Linked DNA regions of Homo sapiens: regions 1 and 3 are each linked to region 2. Evidence: promoter capture Hi-C in human tissues and cell types (Jung and others, 2019). All regions are on one chromosome and are shown on one strand. The core of a region is centred on a gene start or on the middle of the fragment in contact, and the rest is flanking DNA. Distances in the headings are between cores, read along the strand shown. Region 1 holds the start of CCDC47 (coiled-coil domain containing 47). Region 2 holds the start of CYB561 (cytochrome b561). Region 3 overlaps STRADA (STE20 related adaptor alpha).

Evidence for each region. Contacts are between HindIII fragments. The study calls those that stand out against the background at their distance.
Region 1: a contact is called between the fragment with the promoter of CCDC47 here and the fragment with the promoter of CYB561 in region 2, in 1 of the 25 tissues and cell types used here (bladder).
Region 3: a contact is called between a fragment that was not itself captured here and the fragment with the promoter of CYB561 in region 2, in 1 of the 25 tissues and cell types used here (aorta).

Annotation. Positions count from the first base shown.
Region 1 is chr17:63,772,136-63,775,647 of GRCh38, forward strand. CCDC47 (coiled-coil domain containing 47) reads right to left here and starts at 1,462. Exons shown (of 13, transcript NM_020198.3): 1 at 1,277-1,462. DDX42 (DEAD-box helicase 42) reads left to right here and starts at 2,035. Exons shown (of 18, transcript NM_203499.3): 1 at 2,035-2,241. RefSeq lists enhancers at 1,337-1,921, 1,634-1,943 and a silencer at 2,074-2,363. The HindIII fragment of the contact is 13,143 bases long and covers 1-3,512 here.
Region 2 is chr17:63,444,677-63,448,210 of GRCh38, forward strand. It overlaps CYB561 (cytochrome b561), which reads right to left and starts at 1,630. Exons shown (of 6, transcript NM_001915.4): 1 at 1,569-1,630. RefSeq lists silencers at 1,327-1,886, 2,057-2,246 and enhancers at 2,216-3,029, 2,387-2,526, 3,030-3,534. The HindIII fragment of the contact is 15,609 bases long and covers 1-3,534 here.
Region 3 is chr17:63,709,557-63,713,446 of GRCh38, forward strand. STRADA (STE20 related adaptor alpha) reads right to left here. Exons shown (of 13, transcript NM_001003787.4): 6 at 3,850-3,890; 7 at 1,172-1,280; 8 at 935-1,058. Among named protein-coding and RNA genes, the nearest start is that of LIMD2, 11 kb to the left of the region's middle. RefSeq lists a silencer at 773-1,067. The HindIII fragment of the contact is 3,518 bases long and covers 291-3,808 here.

The sequences.
Region 1 (3,512 bases), core at 212-2,711, 330 kb after region 2:
ATGACCTTAGCCTAATTACTTAAAATTCCCTGTTCTCCACATACAAAAAAGGGATACCATTTGCTACTTGCCTCTTAGGGCTGCAGTGGGTATTACGGGAGATATGTACCAAGGGTTTTTTTTTTTTTTTTTTTTTGAGACGGAGTCTGACTCTGTCACCCAGGCTGGAGTGCAGTGGCACGATCTCGGCTCACTGCAAGCTCCGCCTCCCGGGTTCACGCCATTCTTCTGCCTCAGCCTCCCAAGTAGCTGGGACTACAGGCGCTCGCCACCACGCAGGGCTAATTTTTTGTATTTTTAGTAGAGACGGGGTTTCACTGTGTTAGCCAGGATGGTCTCGATCTCCTGACCTCGTGATCCACCCGTCTCGGCCTCCCAAAGTGCTGGGATTACAGACGTGGGCCACCGCGCCCAGCCTCCTTTTCAAATCCTACTCTTAAAACTTTTTTTTCATATAGAAGCAACTAAAAGTTAACACCGGAACAGTCAACTCGATTAACAGCCTGCCAAAAGATCCGATCATTTCAAATTGAATTTCCAATTAGAATATTCACACCATAGAAACACTTCTGAGATAACTCAGCACTATAATGGAGATCCTTCAAGGTTATTTAGGTTACAATCATCCAAGCCATTTTTACCTTGGTTTTCCCTCTTAGAAGTCTCCGCTGCACCTGTCAGTTCTCAAATGCACAAGTCCTTGCCAGACCACCCAGCCTCTATGACTCCTGAAGCAAGCAACACAGGACCAAGGAAAATTCACACAAGCGCTAACAAGTCTGGTTTGATTATTTTCTGCAAGCTCATCCAATAGTTCCTCAGCGACTGAGTCTAGACTTGAGGAAAGAGGACTGAGTGAGGCCATCATTCCTTGTTGTCATTTTAGATTAGGTCTTCCTGACAACGGCCAAAACGAGTATTCTGGAAATCATGCAGACTTTCCTCTGTCTCTTTATATGTGTTGGATACAAACACGTTTCATTTTAGAAACCTCCAGAAGAGACTGGCCACAGAGGTTTTTGCTTCTATTAAACCCCTTTGCCTAGTTTCTCCCCACCCAAGAGAATCAATACATCCTAATGTCATCCTCCGGCACACACTGTACATTTCCTCTAACTCTGCCCTTTTGGCTATCATTTGCTCACAGCTCCGTGGGAAAGTTCCCCCAAACCATTACAATTATCTCAACCGGACCGGGCTACAGGCCAAGCAACTCGGAGTCACCGCTCGGCCTGGCCCGGCCACGCCGACGAGCGCGTCCTGGCCCGCTCCTTACCTGTGGCCGAAGCCGAAACCCGGCCCAGCGCCCTGCGTCCGACACCCCTGCCCGGCCTGCCTCTCGGCCTGGCCGCCGCCTCCGCGATCGCAGCGGTTTTACTGCCCCGGATGCCTCTAGGACGCAGCCAGAACCGTAGCTCAGTCACGCCGCGCCTCTCTTCACGTAGCCTCCGCCGTCCGTTACGTAGAATGCGAGCGGCTCGTCAGCGCCTGCGCGCAGCCTGCGGGGCGGGACGCAACCCCGGGGAAAGCGCGAGACCTCCCTCTCTCCCGCCCGGCTGAGGCGAGGTGGGGCTTTTGGGAAAATTACATAATCCCCGCCCCTGGGCCGGAACTGCCCTCGCCTATCCCAATCCTCCTACCTAGGATTCCGTCAAGTTGACGTCACACGGAACCGGTGCTCCGGAAGCTAAAGGTGGCCATGCTGTGTGGGACCACGTGGCCAGAGGCAAGAGTGTCGCTCTAGTAGTATATGCAACAGTTTAAACTATAGGCATGTTCATGTAAATATGGTTTCTGTCCAACCCGTTTTCTCTTGGGATTTTTGGCTAGCCCCTTGACGCCACTTTTTCTTCATTCGCAGACCCACTTTCTAGATGGGTCATGAACACTGTCCACCCAACTGCAGTTTCCCGTCAGAGTATCTGAGGAGCCTGTGAGGCGTTCTGGAGCTTTAAGGTCAGGCGCCTTCCGGGAGCCGTAGCCCCGGCCCCGCCCTTCTGCCCGCGCGTTCCTCACTGCGCATGTCGCGTTTTTGTTCCCCTCCCCCCTTCAGCAACGGGCCGTGAGGCGGTGGCGGTGGTGGCGGTGGCGGCGGCGGTGGTGGTGGTGGCGGCGGCGGCGGCGAAGGGGGCGGAGAGGAAGGAGCGCGGCGGGACCGGGCCGGGACAGCGCGTACTTTGGGCTCCGGGATTCGCTCCGCGCCCGCGGTTGTAGCAGCTGCCGCTGCAGCCATAGCAGCAGGTTTGTGCGTGGGGTTTCTGGACGCAAGGCCGCCAGTCCTTGGGGGCACTGGAGGCAACTGCTGGGCCTAGCGAGGGCGGAGGAACCGCGGCCTCGCTTAACAAAGAGTCGGCAGAGCCTCGGGGCACCGGCGGCCGGGGTGCCGGGAAGGGGTGGGAGTGGGGGCTGAGGCCTCTAGGGTTCCTTCCTAGCCGCGTCGCCCTCCCACAGCTCCCGCTTCCCTCACAAGTCTTACCGAGGCCCAGTTGGCGGCTTTCCGGAGGCGGCGCCCCCTCGCCTAGGAAAAGGATTTGCAGGGTGCCCGGCTCCAGGGCAGGAATAGCGCGGGGAGAATTCTGACCCAAGGAGGCAGCGCTTGGGAGATGCAGGCCTCCGAATTTGGGGTCCTGAGAGGCAAAAGCTGCCAAATGAGAGGAGTGAAAAGATATAGGCGATGATCTTTGTGCAGCGTTGAGTAGGTCGATTATTAGCATCACTGTAGTCACACAAACTTTTTTGCGGCCTACTTGAGAGCGTATCTGATGTGAATAAATAATTTACATGGAATTGCAAACATATGCATCAAAAACAGGAGAAGCTGTCGAGAGTTTTGGGGAATTACATTCTCATCACTGAGAATTTCCCTCTTGCCCCCACTCCTATAGGCAGTTATCCAATTTCTTGTGGCTTCCCTGTGTTTTCTTTTTGTCAATGATGTTTCTATGTCTGTCCTCTCTCGTATACACACCCAGGACTTCCTCAAGCGCAGGGACTATGTCTTAAGGCGCTTTGCAGAGCCAAGCTCATTTCTGGCACATAAGAGGTGAGCAATGAGTGTTTCGTACAAAAATTAATGTTTATATTTTGACAGCTGGGAAAAGAAAATATATCTTCCTGTACCTGGAAGAAGCATTGTGTAGCCTAATGTGCAATTCGTTCATTCAAGGGGTATTTTTATTGGTGCCTATTCTCTAGCGCCGTTCTAGGTGATAGGGATAGGTGTTAGACCCCTGCCTTTGGGGAACTTAACTTTCTAGTAGCGGGAGGAGAGGCAAACAGATACATATATTATACTGAATGTTAGAAGATGATCAGTATCTTAGGGAAAAGAAAGCTGGAAAGGGGGTTGGGGAGGTGGTGGTGTTGGAATTTGCAATAAAGTGGTCAGGGAAGTCCATACAGACAAGCTGATATTTAAGCGGACTAGAAGGTGGAGTGAGAGCCTACGTTTATCTGGGGAAAGGAACGTTCCAAGCTAGAGAATAACAAACATAAAAGCCTTGAGGAGGACA
Region 2 (3,534 bases), core at 380-2,879:
CTTTTAATCTGTGACATTGTATATTCCCAAAATTCATTTATGAATTGTTCAGACAGTAGAGTGCTTTTTCCCAGTGAAGCTACGCTTTCAGAGGGGGTTAATTTCTCATTCCCCTCCACCAATGCCATCTAATGCCACTGAACCATCCCAGTATTAGCAGGAGCCCAAGCTCTGCCTGCCAAGGAAAAGTGGTGAGGGCAGAAAAGTAGTAGGACAAGGCTGGGCACGGTGGCTCACGTCTGTAATCCTAGCACTTTGGGATGCCAAGGCGGGCAGATCACTTGAGGTTAGGAGTTCGAGACCAGCCTGGCCAACATGGTGAAACCCCGTCTCTCCTAAAAATGCAAAAATTAGCTGCGTGTTGTGGCACACACCTGTAATCCCAGCTACTAGGGAGGCTGGAACAGGAGAATCGCTTGAACCCGGAAGATGGAGGTTGCAGTGAGCTGATATTGCCCTCTGCACTCCAGCCTCCTGGCAACAGAGCAAGACTCCATCTCAAAAAAAAAAGAAGGAAGGAAAGTAAGGAAAGCAAGAAAGCAATAAAGCAAGAAAGAAAAGGAGTGGGACAAGCAGGGTGGTTCCACCTCCAGCTCTAGGAGGCTCCCTCATGCAAGGAGGTGGGGCTGCCACCGCCTCGTATTTTCCTGCCTCCATCAAATTTCACCGGGAGAAATCCAGGCACCTAGAGGAGGTGGCAAAGCTTTTTTTTTTTTTTTTTCATTAGCTATTAAACCAAAGGGGCAGAATCTAGGCGCCCTAGATGTAACTTCATTTACGGAGTCAGAAAATCCACAAAGGCTGCCAAGGTGGAATGAATGAGAGGAGGACGACCAGAAAGGAGAAGTCTGGGAAGGGGACCCCAGATCCACACGGATGATCCTCGCTCCGTGATACAGTCGGGGACAGGGCAGGGAGGGAGGGAGGGAGGGTGGCCCTGCCATCTCCCAGGTGTCAAGGTGGCGGCAGCTCCGCCCTCAGCGCAGTTGGCACCGGCCTGACCCACCACAGGGCCACCGAGGCCACCGAAGCCATGGGGCTTTCCCACTCGGGAAACTCCCACCCTCGCGCTCAGAAGCTGGGGGCGTCGGGAGACACAGGCGGGGACCTGCGGCTCCACGTTGCAGCCCGGGCCCTGCTCGGGGCAAGAGGCGGTGGCTCCGGTTTCAGATTTCAAGAGGGCAGCCGTGGCAAAGGCTGGTTGGTCCATTTGCACCCTACCTTGCTCTAGAACGCGGCGCAGGAGCAAAGATCCAAACTCGGGGTCACCAGCAAGCGGGGGTCTCGGTTCTAACTTCAGCAGAGACCCGGCACCCGGGCAGGCCAGGGCAGGGGCCGCCTGGACCGGGAGAGGCTCGGCTCCGAGAGGGCGGGCGAGCCCTGCAGCCCTCGGGCCCAGGGTGCGGGTCGGCGCCGCAGTCCAGTGCGCGGCCGCAAGGGGCAGGTGCGAGGCCGGCTGCTACTCGGGAGCCCCGCGCTGTCCCTCCCTGCGCAGTCAGGGCTCACCTGGGCCGCCCCCGCCCCGCACCCCTGCGCGCTCCGCTCCCACCCCCAGCCCGGCCTCCTACCTTGCCTACCCGAGCGTCCCTTCAGCCTCCCCGCGCCGCGCCCGGGTCGCTTGGCCGGTTCTGCGGGCCGTGGCGCGACGGCGTCGCCATGGCAACCGGGCGGCGGGCTGGGCGGTGTCTCCGGGACCGGAAGTGGCGTACGCGGCCCCCGGGGCTGCCCCGCACGTGCCAGGTCCCCGCGGTTGCGGCCACGCTCGGGACCGGGCCCTGCCAGCTCCGGGCCCGCACGTGGGCGAACCGCGGCCACCGTGAGCCCGGCCTCGCGACCTCCCTCCGGGGCCCCCATGATCGGGGGTGCGTGGGATCTGCGGCCTGCGGGGGTGGAGGGCCGGGAGCTCCCCCGGGCCTGCCTCGAGGGCCGCGGGATTCGTCCTTGCGAGCCCCGACTGCGCACGGAAGGACCTGGGGTCGGCCAGGCCTGGGGGATGGGACGGGCCCCGAGGAGAGCGGGTGCCAGGGGCGAGACCCGCCGCCCTTCCCCGGCTTGGTCCCGCGCTTCCTGATTTTCTCGCTCCACGCCTCCCATTCTGCCCTCCACCTTCTTCCCTGCCCCGCCCTCGCCCTGCCCGGGCCCAGGAGGCCACTAGATGTCAGACCCGGTTCGGGCCTTGGCCACGCCGCCGCTCCGGGAGCCCTGGGGGCACCTCCCCAGCCCCCACGGGGGAGACGATACTGCCGGGAAGGCCCGGACTAGCCCCCGCCCCCGCAGAGTAGCCTTCGGGGAACACCGATTCCACCAGGCTCTCACGAAAGCCGAGAGCTTGCCGTCCGCAGCTTCCCCTGCCCAAAGCGCAGAGAAACGAGGGCGCCGAGGCCAAGACCAAGACCGGGAGCCAGCCCCTTCGGAGCCCGGTCCAGGCCCCCGGTCCAGGAAGTGCTGTGGGTAGATAAGGGGCCCAGCTCAGACTTCCTACAAGCTGGGAAGAAAGGGTTCTTTCCTGTCTGATGCCGGGCCAGATGTAGCAAGCGCCTAGGGGTAGGAGGGAAATGGGGTTTCCTCCCCGCAGAGGGAAACCGGCCTCCATTCAGGAACGCCCTCCCCCACCTGCCCTCCAGGCACCGAGGTTCTGGGAGGCCGGGGGGCAGGGAGACCTGCTTACTTGAATGCGCTTTGTGTATTGCCTGTGTATTGCCACAGGCAGTGGGCAAGATAGGCCCTGGGGATCCAGTACTCGCTTAGTACACAGAGAGCAGTCTCCAGCGCCAGGCGAGACGCACAGGCGTGTCAGCTGCATATGGCACACGGTGGCACATGGCACACCTTCCACGAGCAGACACAAGGGGCCGACACAGCAGGGCCCACCCCCTCAGAGGGACCAAGCTTAAACCCTCCAACAACAGAAAATTTGTAGAGTATCTTTCAGTTGGAGGAAATTAATGGATAATTTAAAGTAAGAAACAGTTTCCTTAGCGTGCTAACAGGCAGAATCCCTGTGGATTGAAGGTGGAACTGAGCCATGTCCTTTGTTTGGTCTGTGGATTTAGACGTGGAGGAGGAGTCCTGACCGGCTGAGCAGGGCTGAGTTCCCTCGTGAGAGCCCCGGGCCTTCAGCCCCTTCCAAAGCCAGGAGAGACTCCTGCTGAGGGGTGATAGGGGCCCTTTGGCTTCCCCCTCACCCCACGGCCCAGCAGCACGGGGCTGCAGGCTTTTCCCTTAGGAGGAAGAGCAGCCGCCTCCCTGCCAGCAGTGTTCTCAAGGGCCTGCTTCAAGTGGGGAGGGGTGGGTGAGGGTGTTCTGACTGAGGGAGAGGCCTGCACACCCGCTGCATGGGGGGGCTCATGGCTACACCTAACCCATTTTAAAGAACAGGCAACGCCACCAAACTGCTCTCTGGCACTAGGGCCCAGAGGCCTTGCCCCAGCTCCCAGATGTCCCAACCCAGGACGACAGACACCCAGACTAACTACCTTGCAACCCTGTTCCTGCTGCCGAAGCTCCTGCCTTGGAAGCCTGAGAAGTGTGCAG
Region 3 (3,890 bases), core at 800-3,299, 270 kb after region 2:
TAGAAATCTTCTTGATCTAATCAAATTCATCAATCTTTTGTCTTATGTTTTGTGCTTCTAAAATGTTGAGAAATTATTACATGCCTCAGGTCACAAAAACATTTTCTCACATTTCCTTCTATTTAAGTCTACAGTTTCACATTTTACATAGAAGCCTTTAATCCAGCTGCAGTCCTTCTCTGTATGAGGAGTTATGTAGGGGTCCAGTTTTACCATTTTCCCTACTATGAGCTGATTTCCTGACACTATCTACTAAGCTATCTGTCTTCGCCCTGGTCTCTCAGCATAAGACTGACTCTGGGGCACAGAAAGAAGGAGGCAGAGAGTGGAGTACAAAGGTCCACATCAGATGTTCCTCTCACACAACACTCAAGACCAAGCTGCTCAGCAAAGAGAAAGTCAGTGGCTTCAGCACTAACAGGCTAAGTGACCATCTCCCAAGTCAGTGGCAAGGTCAGAATCCAGATCCTTCTCTCTTTTTTTTTTTTTTTTTTTCAGACAAGAGTCTCACTCTGCCACCCAGGCTGGAGTGCAGTGGTGTGATCTCCAGTCACTGCAACCTCCGCCTCCCAGGTTCAAGCGATTCTCCTGCCTCAGCTTGTAGTCCCAGCTACTGGGACTACAAGCATGTGCCACCACACCCGGCTAATTTTTGTATTTTTAGTAGAGACAGGGTTTCACTATGTTGGCCAGGCTGGTCTCAAACTCCTGACCTTGTGATCCACCTGCCTTGGCCTCCCAAGCGCTGTGATTACAGGCGTGAGCCATCGCGCTGGGCCCTGTTTCTTTTCAGAGCAAAGAGATCTTCAGCAAGAATCCAGATCCTTGATTTTAAACTCTGGCTTCATTAACTTCAGTCAAACTTCACTTTACCTGAAGGCTCAGGGGCATAGCTACCCACTGTAATCATGGGAAAGGCCGCCTAAGAACGCACCTGTGTACATATCCCATGTGGTGGATGTAGTCGAGGGCCTTCAGCACCCCCTGCAGGATGTAAGCAATCGCCAGCTCATTCATGCCATCCATGAAGTGTGTACAGATGAGATCTTTTGCAGAACCTGCAGAAAAGGATTGCATGGAGGCAGTGAAAGGTAATGGAGGAGGAAAACACAGGCAATCTGACAACAGAGTCCCAATAACCCCTTTCTACCAAGAACCCTTTCCCACTCACCGTATGCCATGAATGATGTGACAACCCACAGCTCATTGTCTGCAATAAAAGTGGCTCGATATGGCACGATATTGGGATGGTTGAAGAGTTTGGAGACATGCAGCTCGCCCTGGAAGCAATGATGAAGCTGAAGTCAGAACCAAATGGCACTGAAGGATGCCGCTCAACACAAAGATGGCAGCATGGACAATAGGGGGACCTGGCACTTTCTGGGTGTTCTCAGAGTCATGGGAACAGCCTAAGCAGGTGCCTGCCAACATAGGAAAAACAAGGCCCTGCTGCCTCTGCAGGGACCCAGCACTGCTTTGCCTCTGCCAGATAGGGAAACTGCCAACAACAAAGGGTGCCAGCACACCGACTCAGAGATGATGAAGGCAAACTGTTGACTGAAGACTTCTGAAGTTATAAGCTTATCTCAATTTCAAGGGCCAACGTATAGAATTCCTCTTTAAGATAAGAAAACAAAAAATATTTTGTTGTTGTTATTTGTAGAGACAAGGTCTCACTGTGTTGCCCAGGCTGGTCTCAAACTCCTGGGCTCAAGCAGTCCTTCTGCCTCAGCCTCCCAAAGTGCTAGGATTATAGGCGTGAGCCACCAAGCCACTGCACCTGGCCAAAAATGTTTTCTTTTTTATTTTTTTGAGACAGGGTCTTGCTCTGTCACCCAGGCTGGAGTGCAGTGGTGTGATCCCGTCTCACTGCAGCCTGAACTTCCCAGGCTCAAGTCATCCTCCCACCTCAGCCTCGCTGGTAGCTGCGACCACAGGTGGACGTCAACATACCTAGCTAATTTTTTATATTTTTTTGTAGAGACAGGGTTTTGCCATGTTGCCTAGGCCTGCTTTGGCCTCCCAAAGTGCTGGGATTGCAGGCGTGAGCCACTGTGCCCAGCCCAAAACTATGTTTCTATTATAAAAGAAAACATGGCCGGGCATGGTGGCTCACGCCTGTAATCCCAGCACTTTGGGAGGCGAGGCAGGCAGATCACTTGAGCCCAAGAGTTGGAGACCAGCCTGGGCAACATGGCGAAACCCCATCTATATGAAACATACAAAAAATTAGTTGAGCATGGTGGTGCATGCCTTTAGTCCCAGCTACTCGGGAAGCTTAAGTGGTAGAATCACCTGTGCCTGAGCAGTTGAGGCTGTGGTGAGCTGTGATTGCACCACCGCACTCCAGCCTGAGCAACAGAGCCAGACCTTGTCTCAAATAAAGAAAAAAAAAAGAAAAAGAAAACACAGTTGATGGAGGAGAAGGCCAGCTGAGACTGGCTTCTGCTCCATCCTCAGACCCACCAAACTACTATGAACAGATGAACAGGTCCTAGAGCACCATCAGGTAACCACCAATTCAGAAAAAGTTGTAAATGAAGGAGGGGAGGGGCTGCAACTAACTCTACTGAAGGAAAACTGCCCCAGGCCCTGACTCTAAGCTGGCATCAGGAAAGGAGAGTCTAACTCCCAAGCACTTACTAGACTCACAGTCTCTCTCCGTTTTGTTTTGTTTTATTTTTTGAGCCAGGGACTCAGTCTGTCACCCAGGCTGGAGTTTGGTAGTGCAATCTCAAACTCCCGGGCTCAAGCAATCTCCCTGCCTTGCCCTCCCAAAGTGTTGGGATTACAGGCATGAGCTACCATGCCTGCCCCCTCTCTCAGTTTAACGAGAGAGTGGCTACTTGCTTCTCGAATAGAAAGGAATGTCAGGACTGGGCATAGTGGCTCACACCTGTAATCCTAGCATTTTGGGAGACTGAGGTGAGTTGATTGCTCGAGCTCAGGAGTTTGAGACCAGCCTGGGCAAGATGGTGAAACTCTGTCTCTACAAAAAATACAAAAATTAGTCAGGTGTGGTGTGCCTATAGTCCCAGCTACTTGGGGGGCTGAGGCAGGAGAATCATTTGAGCCCAGGAGGTTAAGGCTGCAGTAAGCCGTGGTCCTGCCACTGTACTCCAGCCAGGGCAATAAAATGAGACCCTGTCTCGAAAAAAAAGAGGCCAGATGCGGTGGCTCACATTTGTAATCACAGCACTTTGGGAGACCAAGGCAGGCAGATCACCTGAAGTCAGGAGTTTGAGACCAGCCTGGCCAACATGAAGAAACCCCGTCTTTTCTAAAAATACAAAAGTTAGCCGGGCATGGTGGTGTGCGCCTATAGTCCCAGCTACTCGGGAGGCTAAGGCAGGAGAATCGCTTGAACCTGGGAGGTGGGGGTTGCAGTGAGCCGAGATCGTGCCACTGCACTCCAGCCTGGGTGACAGAGTGAGAATCCGTCTCAAAAAAAAAAAAAAAGAAAAGAAAAAGAAAGGAACATCAGGCAAACAGGAGGCTGAGAGCCAGAAGATGGCCACTGGTGGCAGGGCAGGCACCTTGTGTCTGGAACAAGATGGCCTGGGTTTGAATCCTGCCTCTGCCATGAGCAAGTTACTTAGCTTCTTTCTAAATAATAAATAAATGAATAAAAAAGCCAGAAGGGAGTGTTTGGAGAAGAAAAGGGAAATATAAATTAGGCTGAGCAGCATTTCAGCCCAATCCTTAGTGCCAAATGGCCAGGATTCTCCACTGAAAGCTTCCATAACTTCCGAACGTTTAGTCTCCCTTCATTTCTTTGTAATTCCTTGTAATTCCTATCAGAGCCAAGAGCCCACCCTCCCTCCATGTGACACACTCATGGTTTATTACCTGCAAGAATGTTACCATCTCATTGGAACAAGCTTCTAGGT